5 separate regions of the Homo sapiens genome follow, and regions 2, 3, 4 and 5 are each linked to region 1. Evidence: promoter capture Hi-C in 16 types of primary human blood cells and fetal thymus (Javierre and others, 2016). All regions are on one chromosome and are shown on one strand. The core of a region is centred on a gene start or on the middle of the fragment in contact, and the rest is flanking DNA. Distances in the headings are between cores, read along the strand shown.

Region 1 (2,700 bases), core at 113-2,612:
GCCAAGCCAAGCCTCAGCAGCCTGCCAGTTTCTGGCCCAGGGGTCCTGGATGATTTCCTTCACCCACAGGTGTACCAGTCCATAGGATTGACTGGCACATGACTTTGCATACAAAACACCTGAAATGTAGGCTAGGCCCTTGCTTCTCATCTGCAGTTGCTACGACCATTTGGGGATGGTCATTCATTGTGTGGGACGTTCCCTGATGCCCTCTCTCCGGATGCCCAGTGGGGCTCCAGAGACAACCCACAGCATCCTCCTGCCGGAGGATCTGGAGGGAGAGGCACAGTCCACAGAAGGGGCCCTAGCCAAGAACTGGTGTGCCACGCATGCCAAGGAGAAAGGAACTGCATATCTACACCACACTCTGGCCCAGAACCAATGGCAAGGGTCACAAATATGCCGTCGTTCACCCTACCATTGCCAACCACGTCGGAGCACAATCTGAAGTCTCAATGGTGTCTTCCCAGAACTCGGGCCTTCCACAACAAGACAAAGCAAGTCCCAACTCCCCGACTCCAATAAGGGCCGCTGGACAGCCTCTGCAGCAGCCTCGAAGCCCTAAGGTCCTGGCCAAAAGGCAAAAGCACAGGCTCATGGGACCTGATGCCCACAAGACAAGGGTTTCAAGCCCCCAGCCCTCATCACCCCAGTGCCCATCTTGAAGAAGGGCACAGCCTGGCCCTGCTAATTTTTCTACCTCCTGGGGGACTGGTGGCCTACCTCTCTGTGACTCCCAGCCACGTACCTCGCTTGGTCTTTGGAGGCCTGAGACCCTCGTCCTGGGCCAGGGCCTCCCAAGTCTCCCGCTCCTTCCAGCGCCTCAGCTGCTCCTCCCGCATTTTGTAGAAGAGGATGTGCTTCTGCACATCGCTGAGCTCGGCAAGGAGCTCGGGGTCGATGTACATGTCGTGCAGGATCTGCTGCAGCATGATGCCACCTGGGATGCACGCACCAGAAGGGCAGCCAGCAGGGGAAGCAGGGCCAGGCAGAACGCCCGAGGGGCTGCTCTGCACTACGGACTGCTCAATCCGGGGCCACTCTCGGTGCCCCTTCTCTGTGCAGCATTGTCAGTTGGCCTCAGCTTGCAGCCAGCGACGAACTCATCTCCTCTACCCAGGACAGCAAAAGAGGCCAGGCAACAGGACCCAAAGGGGCAGGTGGGACTCTGCAAGGGGGAGCAACCACCAGGAGCAATCTAGTCCTTCTCCTGGGTCACCAAGCACGGCATCCCAGGAGAGCCCATGTCTTGGCATCACCTGGGGTTCTGAGACAATGGGAAGGGCCCAAGCCTCCAGCTCAGCCAGGAAATGCCCAGTCCCAGCCCTGCCTGGGCTGGTAGGTGTCGAGTGATCTGTTAGTGGAAGGTAACAATGACACCAGCTATATCAATGACACTGCCCCGGCCAGCTGGGAACTGATCTCTCCTCTGCAGATAAGAGGAGGAGAAGGAGGCAGACTTGCCTACTAAATTCCATGTCTTTTCAGCCAATTTCAAACACAGACCAGAGGAGCCTGCCAGAAGCTGCTGGGCCCCTCAGCCCTCTCAGCCCCTCTCTCTGCGGGTTCCTTCGCTGCCAACTTTCTTCCTTTCCAGAACATTTGGCATTCTGAGATGATGCGTTTAAAACTCTGCCTTGGGGGAGGAAAGATTTTTCCTCCTATCTGTGTTACAGCCAAGAAAGAAAACAAAATGGAATCAGTAGAGACAACTGGAGGGGATTTTATCTTGGAATTCCAGGACAGAAAGGAAGCAGACATCCTTTCCCTTTGGCCTATATATAATGAGATCCTGCAGCCATGCGTGGCTGACAGATAAACCCTCCAGGGGCCAGTTTTAATGGTCGTTGTTAATCTTGTTTGTTGCAGATGCCTGGAGTTGACCAAAAAGAAAGAAGATGAAACTGGCTCTTCTCTGTGCCCTGATCAGAAGCACACTGGAATGGCGGGATGTTGCCTTCTGCTGGGAGGGAAGCCACCCTCTCTTTGGTGTGTGAAGGTGGGTAGAAGCTGCCGTTGCTGAGATCTTTAGGGTGAAAGCTCACCCTAAATATGTGCTCAGAGCAAATCACAGATGCCTTCTTATTGGGACAAGGATATTGAAGCTCAGAGAAAGTAAGTGGCTTGCCTATGGCTTCCTAATGGACAAGTCACTGTATTGGGACTCCCCCGTTTTGAAATTTGACATCCACTAGCAACTATGAATCTGTTGATGGTTTGAAAACATAACCCAACCAAGGGAAAACAAACGAACCAACAGGATTTGGCACTGTGGCTTGGTTGGATTGGTGACCTTCCTGTCCCCTTCCTTGCCCATGAGGGTGGAAGGTGGATCAGGTACCCAAGAGTGATGGAAGAGGGGTGGAGAGTTGGCATTCTTCCCCCTCTGCAAGGTTAACACAACAGGAAGATGGACTAAGCAGATTCAGATGAGCTGTAAGCCCATAGGGTCAAAGCTCCTGCTCAGCTAGGCAATGTCCAGGTCACAGGAGTGGAGTCAGACGCCCCACCCCTCCCCACCCAGGTCCAGCTAGCTGGTCCCAGTGTGCCCAGACCTTCCTAGAGCCGCCACAGGACTCGCCTGTCCGCTGCAGAGCTGTGGCCCTGGACTCCCATCCACCCACCTCAGGGCTTGCACCGACTCCCCCACCGGGAGTCCTGGCTCCCCTCAGTTTCTGAGACCGGGGGTCTTCCCTAGCC
Region 2 (2,700 bases), core at 193-2,692, 190 kb after region 1:
TTTTCAGTCATTGGCTTATTCTTGAAGGGAGGTTAAAAAGTGTTGAGTTGGGTGTCAACTGTCATCCAAACAGGCCAGGTGCTTCCTGCAGCAGCCACAACTGTGGATGAGGAGCCATCCTTCCTCTTACAGCTCCTATAGCTGGTATCTGTTCCTGTCTATCAAAAATAAGAGAATTCCCAGAGGTTCTCCTTCCCCTAGGCAATTACATCGTAAGTGGGAGATACATAACTCTCTTCGGCTCGACTACTTTATCCTACTTATGCATAATTTGGCAATACTAGCAATAACAAGTTTCTCTAGCCATATTATGTTGACCGGTATGAACTAATCCACTGTGCATTGAATCCTAAGTATTGTAGTAGGGCGGAAGAGAAAATAATATTATACAGGAGATGTTATGGCCAGTTAGCGGAGTGGATTGGTGTGCAGAAATAGATAGGAGAGATCGATCAACAGAGAAAGGCTTGAGAGAGTGTGGCTGAGATGAAGAAAAACAGAGAGGCCTCTGGGTGCCTTCTGAGTCATGTAAGCTGGAGGTTGGGAACTCTGGTTATTTCCTTGCTGGTTGCAAAAGCAGTTGTCCTCATAGTCAGTACCACTGACTTGAAATTCCTTGATATTTTAGGCACTCTCCACAAGCCTAGTTTTTTGTGAACAGGGAAGTATTTTTATTGCCATTTTCTATGTAAGAGCTTAGTTTTGAAGTAAGAGCTTTTTTGTTTATTTGTTTTGAATGGCTTTCAGTGGTTTTGCTCATGTGTGAGGAAGGGGATTAGGTTTTGGAAGTTTCTTGAAAATGTCAAGAAGCTGGTTGTTTTGATCAATCTGACTGTTATTTAACAAATACACTTTGCATTATTGTTGAGAGATTGGAGTTATTTAACTTCCTCTACCAATGTCTGAAAGTTGATTGAAACTGTTTCTGCGTTTCAGCTACCTACCCCATCACTTTTATCTTAGTAGTGATAATATAGGAATACTAAGAAATTACCTTTAAAAGCTTTTGCAAATAAAATATCAAGCACTTTATTATATCTTTACTTGTAAAAATTTATTATTTTAGAATGCATTGTCAGATAGTAGACATTTTATGCTTTACAGGCCAAGAGGCAAATTTGATGATATTATGAAGGCATTATGGCATATTATGTAGGAATAACAAGAGAGAAAATGAATTTTTGCAAATGTTTTATTGATGAAATTCAAATAATAATCACTGAATATAAATTTTTTATTAGATAGGTTTACTATTGAGAATTTAAAAAAGTTTTTAAAAGATAACATTTCACTTGGTTGAAGTTCAGCGTTAGTGTGGTCTATCATCAAAATCTATTTTAAAATATTTATCTGCGGGCCGGGCGCGGTGGCTCACGCCTGTAATCCCAGCACTTTGGGAGGCCGAGGCGGGCGGATCACAGGGTCAGGAGATCGAGACCATCCTGGCGAACGCGGTGAAACCCCGTCTCTACTAAAAATACAAAAAATTAGCCGGGCGTGGTGGTGGGCTCCTGTAGTCCCAGCTACTCAGGAGACTGAGGGGGAAGAATGGCGCGAACCCAGGAGGCGGAGCTTGCAGTGAGCCGAGATCGCGCCACTGCAGTCCAGCCTGGGCGACAGAGCGAGACTCCGCCTCAAAAAAAAAAAGTTTATCTGCTAATGCTGATCTGTAATGAGGTTTTATGCATTTCATCCTTGAAAATGTCTTTTTACATAGTTACTGTCAAAAGTTGCTATCAGTCTATGTGTGTATAATTTAAATTAAGCATATTCATTCCTTAGAAGGTATTTCTAGAATTTTGTTTTTCTCTTGCTGTTTGCCTTTTAGCATGCATTACTTTGTAGAATAGCCACTTCCAACTGAAGGTTGATGGAAGCTTCTTAATTGCATAGTTAAATGGATTTCAGAATATGGAAATTTCCTTTGCACTTACGTTGAGGCCTTACAAACACTCTGGAATTGTAGTTCGAGGTTGGAAAATACATCCACTGACAATTTGTTTGGGAACGGAGATCTAATATCCTGTTCTAGTTTTGACAGCACTGGACGTGTATAAAGCAGCTTTACGTTACTTGTGATTCAAACAACATGAGCTGTTGTTGAAGTGAGTTTACTGCAGTGTAAGTTTTACATATGAGTGATGTTTTGCCATGTAATTTTAAAATGAATTAAGAAACATTATCAAGTCTGCAGCCAAAGCTAATTTCCAAAGCCATTTAATGTTTGATAATAGTGGTTGGGAGTATTTCTTCTCATTAAGAAAAATTTAAATCCTGTTTACCAATAACTTACTCGAAAAAGAAACCAAGAAAACAATCTTATTTATAATAGCTTCAAAAAGAATAATATACGTAGGAATAAATGTAACCAAGGAGGTGAAACATCTATACCTTGAAAACTGTAAAACACTAATGCAAAAAATTGAGGAAGACACAAATAAATGGAAAGATATCTTGTGTTCATATATCAGAAGAGTTAGTATTGTTAAAATGTCTATACTACCTAAAGTAATCTGCAGATTCATCTCAATCCCTATCAAAATTCCAATGGCATTCTTCACAGAAACAGAAAAACCCAATTCTAAAATTTGTATGGAAGTACAAAAGACCCTGAATAGCCAAAGCAATCCTAAGAAAGAAAAACGAAGTTGGAACTATCAAATTACTTGATCCAGAATTATATTACAAAGCCATAGTAAT
Region 3 (2,700 bases), core at 110-2,609, 210 kb after region 1:
TGTTGTACTTTTCAGTTCTAGATTGTCTACTTGTTTCCTTTTTAGGATTTATATCTATTAACTTTTTTAAGGAAAACATCATTCATATACTTTCCTTTACTTCTTTAGACATGGTTTCACATTTTTTGCATGTGAGATCTATGGAGATGTGAAGGATTCTGGCAAAACAGAGGAGTAGAGAGGCTGTTAGGAGCCAGATCATGAAGGATCTGGACACCAGCTTCAAAGGTTTGGACTTGAGTTAAGGCATGTTGGGTGGCACTGAAGGCTTTTGATCACGGGATCAAATTGATTTTGTAGGAAGACCCAATCTCAGGAAGTGAATAGATGGGTCAAAGACTTAGAAATAGGTTAAAGAGTCTTTTTGTTTTGTTTTGTTTTGTTTTGTTTTTTGCCTGAAAAAGGACTTTTGAAGTGGCAGTGCAAATGGAAAGCAACGGTCAAATGCCATGGTCTTATAAAGGATGGATAGTCAGGATTTGGTGACTCAATGAGGAGGCCAAGGTAAGCAATCACTGCTGATGTTTAGGCTTGGAAACATGGTGACTTCAAGAAGAGCAATTTGAGAAGAGCTAGAAGAACAAAGACATATTGAGTAAACAAAAAATGTTTGGAGTGGTTGCTCCATACCAGACACTGTGCTTGTCATGGTGAACAAGACAGACATAGTTCCTAAACATATGGCACATATAGTCCAAAGGAAGCAAGTGAACAAAGTAAATTGCAATGGGGCAGTGAGGGAAATTAAGCAGTGTGCTGAGACAGAGAGCAGTCAGAAGGACTCATTTTAGATTAAGGATGTCAGTAAAAAATGGGAAGTGGCCATATTTGGGACTAAAGCTTCAGTTGTAGACTTACTATTTGATAAAGCAGGCTGATATATGTGTAAAATTATTTCATAGACTGTTGGAAAGGCAGAATGAAACCCAGGAGAAAAGTTGAGAATGGATGCAAAGGTTTGGGAGTTACTGGCAGGGATCTCTGAGGGAGGTTATGTCCATTTGAATTGGGGGTGGGGTGAGGCAGCAACAGGATAAAGAGTAGTTAGTGGGACCAGAGAAGGCTCAAATGGATGGACAGAGGCAGAAGCTCATCCTCACCATCCAGGGTGAGTTTCCAGGAGAATGGCAAATGTTGTGGAGGGAAGGAGATGGGAGTGATGTGTAGAAGGACCTGTAATGGCCTTTGAGGATTTTTCCCTGTTTTTATTAAGGATATGGGGGTGAAATTCAGCTCTGGTGGTTAAGGGTGTGAATTTTGGTAGACAGGAAAGGGGCTGGTGAAGCCAGTCTTTGGAGAAGTTTGGTGATGAAGAGAGAGTGACTTGAAGATGTAACAGGGCTGGGGAAGGATTCTCCTTGTAGGGAGAAATGAAGTTTCATTTGTGTTTTGGCAATAGGAAAGTGGCAAGTTGACTGAAGGTGTAGCTCAAAGCATTAGAGCAGGGTTCCAGAAGAATTGGGGGTGGGACAAATCAGAGGAAGACAAGTACTTCATAAATCACCTTTTCCTCCACTCCAGGAGGGGAAAATATAGAGACAGACATTTTGAGGTATGGAGGATGAATACTTGGAAGGAGTTAGGGGTACACTGCAGAATTTGCATTATATACCTCTGAGCCACTTGGTAAAGAAGGAAAGAAAGGCAGAGGTTGGTCAAGTACTTGAGTGAGGATGAATTTTACAATGTCTTCTGGGGCAATGGATGAATAAAGTGATTGATGGACAACTCTGTGAACCCACTTGAAGTTTATCCATTAAAAAATGTATGAATGCCTGCTCTGCCTCAACTTCCTCATTTGTATACTAAGTAAAGTAATAGTGCTGACCTCTTTAGGGTTGTGAGAAGGATTAAATGAGTTAATTCATGGAAAGCTTTTACAACAGTGCCTGGCACTTAGTAAGCACTCAACAAGTAGTTACTACTGCTATTACATGCTAGGTGCTGTGTGAGGTAAATAGAGATCTCATCAGAGTTATTATATTCTCCAGTAGCTCATAACAAACACAGAGGTAGAACAGAGTCAGTGGGTAATGGAGGTGCCCTGGAACTGAGGATTGGGAGACTGTCGCGGGACCATAGGGGTTTAGAGTCAGGTAGGAGCAGCCCTGGAGTGCGTGGCTCCCATGCTTACTCTCAGGTAGGTGTCAGTACTGTGGCTGGAGGGAAGGAGGTGGTGACCTTGTTCAAAGCAGGTTCCTGGCCAGGAACTGAGCAGTGGTGGGAGAAGGGGGAGGTCAAGGTAGCAGAGGAGACAGTGAGGGGTACAGCTCATGGGAAAGGATTTTGCAAGGATCTGGTCCAGCCAAGTGGTTGAGGAAGGACTATGGCCCCACCAGGAAGCTTGCCTGTAAATTAGAACCAGGGTTGATGCTCATTGTCTAGCTTAGACACATACTGTGAGGACTGGGGCAAGACAGGCGGGGACTGTGTCTCGGTGGGAAGGGGTCAGGCATGAAGTTGGTGAAGAAGAGAGAATAGAGACTAGCATGGAGTACTTACTAATGCCAACAGCTCCCCTGGGAGTTTATAGAGTTGGTATGAGCTTGTGTTTGAAAGTATAGGGAAATGAAGTCTCAAAGAGTAGCATTCAGCATTGTACCAGTAAGTGTTGAAACTGGTCCTGTCACCCAGTTATGTTAGAAATATAACTACTGAATACATTTGCAGATTCCAACAGCATTAAAAAGTGCCTATCTC
Region 4 (2,700 bases), core at 196-2,695, 130 kb after region 1:
TGGGAACAGTCAGGAAGCAGCTAGCATCAAGATGAAAATAGAGCAAAAACTGATACTTCACTTCAATATGTCAGGCCCAGGTTACCATTCTGTGGATGGGTAAAAGCGAAATCAAGAACAAGACTTGTATGTGAATCTCAAAAATAGATGTGCATAGATCAGCTTCAAATATTTTCTCTATATGCCAATATCCCTGAATTCAGCTCTTTCTTATTTGTTTTAAGCATAAAAAATCCTATACTTCCACAGTGTGTCTCAAAGCAAAGCAAAGTCAATAGGGACCTCTTTCTAAAACCTTCCATAAATGTGGCCAATGGTTTACCAGGTGAACCGATGGCTGACTGAGGGCTAGATGGTGGTATTATTCTGCCCCCAGGTTGAGAAAGCAGGATTGTCTCAAGTGTCCTCAACCATCATTGCATGCACTACCAACTAACATTAACTGAGTCTTTATTCAGTTAGGAAGCTTTGATTTGCAAGTTAACAGAAAACCCAATTCCAGTTGCCTTGAGGTGATCCTGTGGTTTCATGATGTCATCAACAGTCGAGGTTCTCTTGCTTCTCTGCCATTATCCATGTGTTGGCTTCATATTAAGGATGGTTCTCCCTATGGTCATAGGATGATTCCTAGGATCCAACATGGGGAAGGGGCAGTTAGACTAAGGAGTGAACAAAACCCAGATCCTCATACTGATTGGCCAGTCATTGTGGCCAGGGTACTACTGCACTCTAAGTCTAGGTTCATTCCCAACTCATCTATCCCTGTGTGCACACTTAAAAAGAAAAAATATAAGTGAAATGAACAGGATAAGGCATTCCTTAGATATCTTCACATTCAAAGCCCAACTCTTTCGTTTTTTGTTTTTTTTTTGTTTTTTTGTTTTTTTACTATTTTTAGACTTAGAGTTGCTGATTTCTGGATTTGTCACACAATATTATCCTCTGACCATTAGAAACATTGGTAACACAGCATTTCTTAAAGGGTGCTCCATATAGCCTTCTGCTCAACATCAGCAGAAGTTTTTGACAAAAAGATGTTTGACATCTTAATGATAGTCCTTCAAAACAAATGAATTGATGACACCAACCTTTCATTGCTTTGGAATTCCTTTTATCCATTTCAAGAGATTTGGCAACTTTTCCAGTGCCTTACAATTCTTTTGTGTGTTTCTCAATAGCAAAACATAATAGACTTCATTTGTGTGTGTATGTATAGCTTTCTTAGGTTCCATAAGTGTCTCAATTGTTGCTCTGCAAGAATATAGGAAAATGAAGTAATTCTTCTGATAACAAAAGTTGCTTTACTAATATCAAATTTATGTTCCACTGCTCTGATTTTATGAATTTCTGCATTTGCAAAAACTTTTTCATTTCAGTGTCAAATCTTGGAGTAATATTTTAGAAGATTTTACTGTTTAAAAAAATAGAGGCCGGGCGTGGTGGCTCACCCCTGTAATCCCAGCACTTTGGGAGGCCAAAGCGGTGGGATCACGAGGTCAGGAGATCCAGACCATCCTGGCTAATACGGTGAAACGCCATCTCTACTGAAAATACAAAAAAATTAGCCGGGCGTGGTGGCGGGCAGCTGTAGTCCCAGCTACTCGGGAGGCTGAGGCAGGAGAATGGCGTGAACCCGGGAGGCGGAGCTTGCAGTGAGCCAAGATTGCGCCACTGCGCTCCAGCCTGGGCGACAGAGCGAGACTCCGTCTCAAAAAAATAAAAATAAATAAAAATAAATTTTAAAAAAAGGCCGGGCGCGTGGCTCACGCCTGTAATCCCAGCACTTTGGGAGGCCGAGGCGGGCGGATCATGAAGTCAGGAGATCGAGACCATCCTGGCTAACACGGTGAAACCCCGTCTCTACTAAAAATACAAAAAAATGAGCCGGGCTTGGTGGCCGGCGCCTGTAGTTCCAGCTATTCGGGAGGCTGAGGCGGGAGAACGGCGTGAACCTAGGAGGCGGAGCTTGCAGTGAGCCGAGATCGCGCCGCTGCACTCCCGCCTAGGCGACAGAGCAAGACTCTGTCTCAAAAATATGTATATAATAATAAAATAAAAAACAAAAAAATAGAGATGGAGTCTCACCATGTTGCCCAGGCTGGTCTGAAACTTCTGGACTCAGGCGATCCTCCACTGTTAGCCTCCCAATGTGTTGGGATTACAGGCGTCAGCCACTGCACCTGGCCCTAGAAGATTTTATAGAGCATTTAAAGTCAACTCATGGAGTACAAGCAATGTCCATAACTCAACTGAAGGGTCAACAATCTAAGCAGCTATGACTACATTGACGGGTGTGCAGGCAATGACAACTGTCACATCTGTTACTACAATAGCAGTCATAGGACACCACTAATTGTAATGCGTGACCCAATTTCAGACATGTTAAAATGTGAAAAAATGAGCAACTTAGAAATTACAAGCTTTGCTATTCTATAATCAAGTAGAGTTTAGTCCAGGATTGTAAGCGGGTGTCAACATTAGTAGATCTATTAGTCCATATGAACAGAAAACAGGAACAAAACTGCTTATCATATTAATAGATGCTGAAAAGAAATCCAGTTAAAATTGTAGAATTTCCTAGTCATAGCCCTAAGTAAAATAGAAATAAAAGCAAATCACTTAAATATAATAAAAATTCTTTATCGAACACTGAAAGCAAATTTCTTACCTGGAAAAATGTTGATTTCAATTAAATAAGGA
Region 5 (2,700 bases), core at 18-2,517, 130 kb before region 1:
TAAATGGTGACCATGTGAATAGCTCAAAGGAAACTTTCCTAGGCTCTGAAGTTCTCACCTTTTTAAAAATTGAATTGACATGTTGCTCTGCTTTCAGGCGTCCCTCGCCAATTCTGTCTTTTGAAAAGAACTACGATATGGTTTGGCTCTGTGTCCCCATCCCAATCTCATGTGGAACTGTAATCCCCAGTGCTGGGGGAGAGACCTGGTAGGAGGTGATTGGATCACGGGGGTGGTTTCTAAGGGTTTAGCATCATCACCCTAGTGCTGTCTTATGATAGAGTTCTCACAAGATCTGGCTGTTTAAAGGTGTTTAGCACCTTCTCTCTCCCTCTTGCTCTCTCTCTCTCTCTCCTGCTCCACCATGGTAAGACATGCTTCTTCCCCTTTGCCTTCCGCCATGATTGTTAGTTTCCTGAGGCCTCCCCAACCATGCAGAACTGTGAGTCAATTAAACCTCTTTTCTTTATAAATTACCCAGTCTCATGTAGTTCTTTATAGCAGTGTGAGAACAAACTAATACAAATCCTGAGTGAGAGGCTGATTTTCTAGAGCATCTCAGGAGGCAGTGATTCTGGATCATCCATCCACATGCTCATCCTGTATCCACCCACCCATCTATCCATTCGTTCTTCCATCCACCTATCCATCCATCCATCCACCCACCCATGCATTTATCCATCCATCTACCCTTCCATCCATCCATCCATCCATTCCGGTATTCATCTGTTCTTGTGACAAAGATTGCCTTAGTGCCAGGCTCTGTCCTGTAAAGTAGGGATACGGCAGAAAACTCATAGACGTAATCCCTGGCATTATGGCACTGGCATTCAAACTGGGCAAAAAGAAGTAAGCTAGCGTAGTAGAATGATTTGTTAGAAATGTACTATAACCTGGATGTGAAACAGCTGTGTTTTATTCCGCCTCAAATACAGCCAGAACTTTTGGTCCCAAAGGCATGGGCTTCCCTTACTTGCTAGGTGAGTATGTGAGTAAGCTTTTGTTCTCAAAAACCCAGGTGAGTGGTGCCATGCTGGTCACTGAGGGCCACCCTTTAGACACTGTTTTCAGCCTGCACAGGTTTTTAAAGACACTGGATCTGTGCAGGTGGGAGACTTGGCATCCTGTGTTGATGTTAGCCACTTGCTTTCTGCAGACAGCTGGGTCCATGAAACTTCTCTATGCCTAATGAAGAGGAATTGGGCTGGCAACAGCTCGCAACCCTGGCTGCAGATCAGAATCACCTGGAACTTTAAGTCTCTATGCCTAGCCTGCACCCAGACCAATTAAATCAGGAAATCTAGAAGTGACAGTCAGTCAGCAGTTCTTAAAGTGCCCCAGGTGAATCCAATGGGAACAGCTGGTCAAAGGTGAAGAGTTTGCAGCTTTGAATGCTGCAGATTGAAGAAAAGTTTTGTTTCCAGATAAGTTGCAGGAGGAGAAGGGTTTGGGTTTCTGCTCCTAGTTGTAACCAGAACCCATTTCAGGCCCAACACTCCAAGGATGGCAAGGTCTCAGAACAAAGGAACAAAGCTTTTTTAGCCCGAGCTGCAGGCAGAGGAAAGGGCTGCTGCATGGGGCTTCAGGGTAGCCTTCTTGAGGAAGCCATGCCCTTAACAGGCAGAGCAAGGAGAGGAAAGAGGCAGTCAACATGGATCCTGTGAGCCTCAGAGCTCTTGTTTAGGGAGAGGCCAGAAGCGACCAGACCTGGCTTCCTCACGAGCTGAATCTCAGAGCTAGATTGTGTATCATTTAGAAAGAATAAAAAATATGTTACTTTTTGTGCCTTAAGCATCATGTAAGTACTTCATACCTTTTCCCCACTCAGCGGTCACACAGCGGGGCAGTGCTGTGAGGGAGAGAGGCCGAGCTGGCTAGTACCTCTCTCCTCCTACCATGGCCCCTCTGCCACCTATACCTGCCTTGCTCAGCTCGCAGCCATGCCACACCCTCCCCCTGACAGGACATATCCTCTGGGCAAGGGCTGGCAATGACACAGAGGCCTCCATGAGGACCCCCAGGGACAGGGACACTTTCACCCTCCCTGGGAAGTGATAGGTTGGGACCCTGGGCTCCAGGCAGCCCCATCCTCTCAGGGCCATAAGAGCTCTTCCTCATACTATGACTCCCAGGAGTAGTGATGCTTCCTCAGGCTCCCTCCCTCCTACATTCTTGCCCCTTGCCCATCCCATCCCAGAACAAGGAATGTGAATGCTTCTGAACTACTTGTCCAGCCCCTCTTTCTTCTGCAAACAGGCCTCTATCCCATCCCTCTGAATTTCTCCTCTTGGCAGCAAGTCCCACACCCCAGTTTTCTCCTGAAGCAGATGGCTTTAAGAACCTTTCCTTGCTTTCTATTGGGACTACTGACTGTATTATATAGAAATAAAATACTGTGAGCTTGTTCTCCCTGTTGGCACAGCCAACAAGGACCAGCCAGCAGCTTTGTAAATGGCTCCATTAAATCCCAGCTCTGTAGTGGGGCAAAGACTCCCATAGCCCAGTGCTTCTCAGCCTCAGCTACAATCATTATCATCTCAACAGGTTTGAAAATGTGAGATGCCTGGGCCCCCACTCCCCAGAGATTGTTTTAATTAGTCTTTAATTAGTCTGGAGGAGGTACAGAGAGCTCACCATCAGGCTTGAGTTTTAAGCCCTCCCAGATGGTGCTAACGTGTGGCCAGTGTTGACAGCCACTGC

The links. The method cuts DNA at HindIII sites, captures the fragments that hold promoters and counts their contacts. A CHiCAGO score of 5 or more calls a contact.
Region 2: a fragment that was not itself captured here is called in contact with the fragment with the promoter of SH2D4B in region 1 in 2 of 17 cell types (erythroblasts and fetal thymus); the score reaches 6.4 in erythroblasts.
Region 3: a fragment that was not itself captured here is called in contact with the fragment with the promoter of SH2D4B in region 1 in 1 of 17 cell types (fetal thymus); the score reaches 6.1 in fetal thymus.
Region 4: a fragment that was not itself captured here is called in contact with the fragment with the promoter of SH2D4B in region 1 in 14 of 17 cell types (activated CD4 T cells, megakaryocytes, non-activated CD4 T cells and 11 more); the score reaches 10.6 in activated CD4 T cells.
Region 5: a contact is called between a fragment that was not itself captured here and the fragment with the promoter of SH2D4B in region 1, in 1 of 17 cell types (M2 macrophages). The highest score is 5.4, in M2 macrophages.

Annotation. Positions count from the first base shown.
Region 1 is chr10:80,536,564-80,539,263 of GRCh38, reverse strand. SH2D4B (SH2 domain containing 4B) reads right to left here and starts at 1,362. Exons shown (of 8, transcript NM_001388272.1): 1 at 749-1,362. The coding sequence starts at 932. The HindIII fragment of the contact is 17,935 bases long and covers 1-2,700 here.
Region 2 is chr10:80,347,846-80,350,545 of GRCh38, reverse strand. The region is part of intron 3 of DYDC1 (DPY30 domain containing 1); the gene reads left to right. It also overlaps a transcript of DYDC2 not described here. Among named protein-coding and RNA genes, the nearest start is that of DYDC1, 7.6 kb to the left of the region's middle. RefSeq lists a silencer at 1,907-2,107. The HindIII fragment of the contact is 874 bases long and covers 1,006-1,879 here.
Region 3 is chr10:80,328,389-80,331,088 of GRCh38, reverse strand. No RefSeq gene overlaps it. Among named protein-coding and RNA genes, the nearest start is that of DYDC1, 27 kb to the left of the region's middle. The HindIII fragment of the contact is 1,034 bases long and covers 843-1,876 here.
Region 4 is chr10:80,403,070-80,405,769 of GRCh38, reverse strand. No RefSeq gene overlaps it. Among named protein-coding and RNA genes, the nearest start is that of PRXL2A, 4.1 kb to the left of the region's middle. RefSeq lists a silencer at 1,924-2,096. The HindIII fragment of the contact is 1,954 bases long and covers 469-2,422 here.
Region 5 is chr10:80,666,487-80,669,186 of GRCh38, reverse strand. No RefSeq gene overlaps it. Among named protein-coding and RNA genes, the nearest start is that of LINC02655, 18 kb to the right of the region's middle. The HindIII fragment of the contact is 536 bases long and covers 1,000-1,535 here.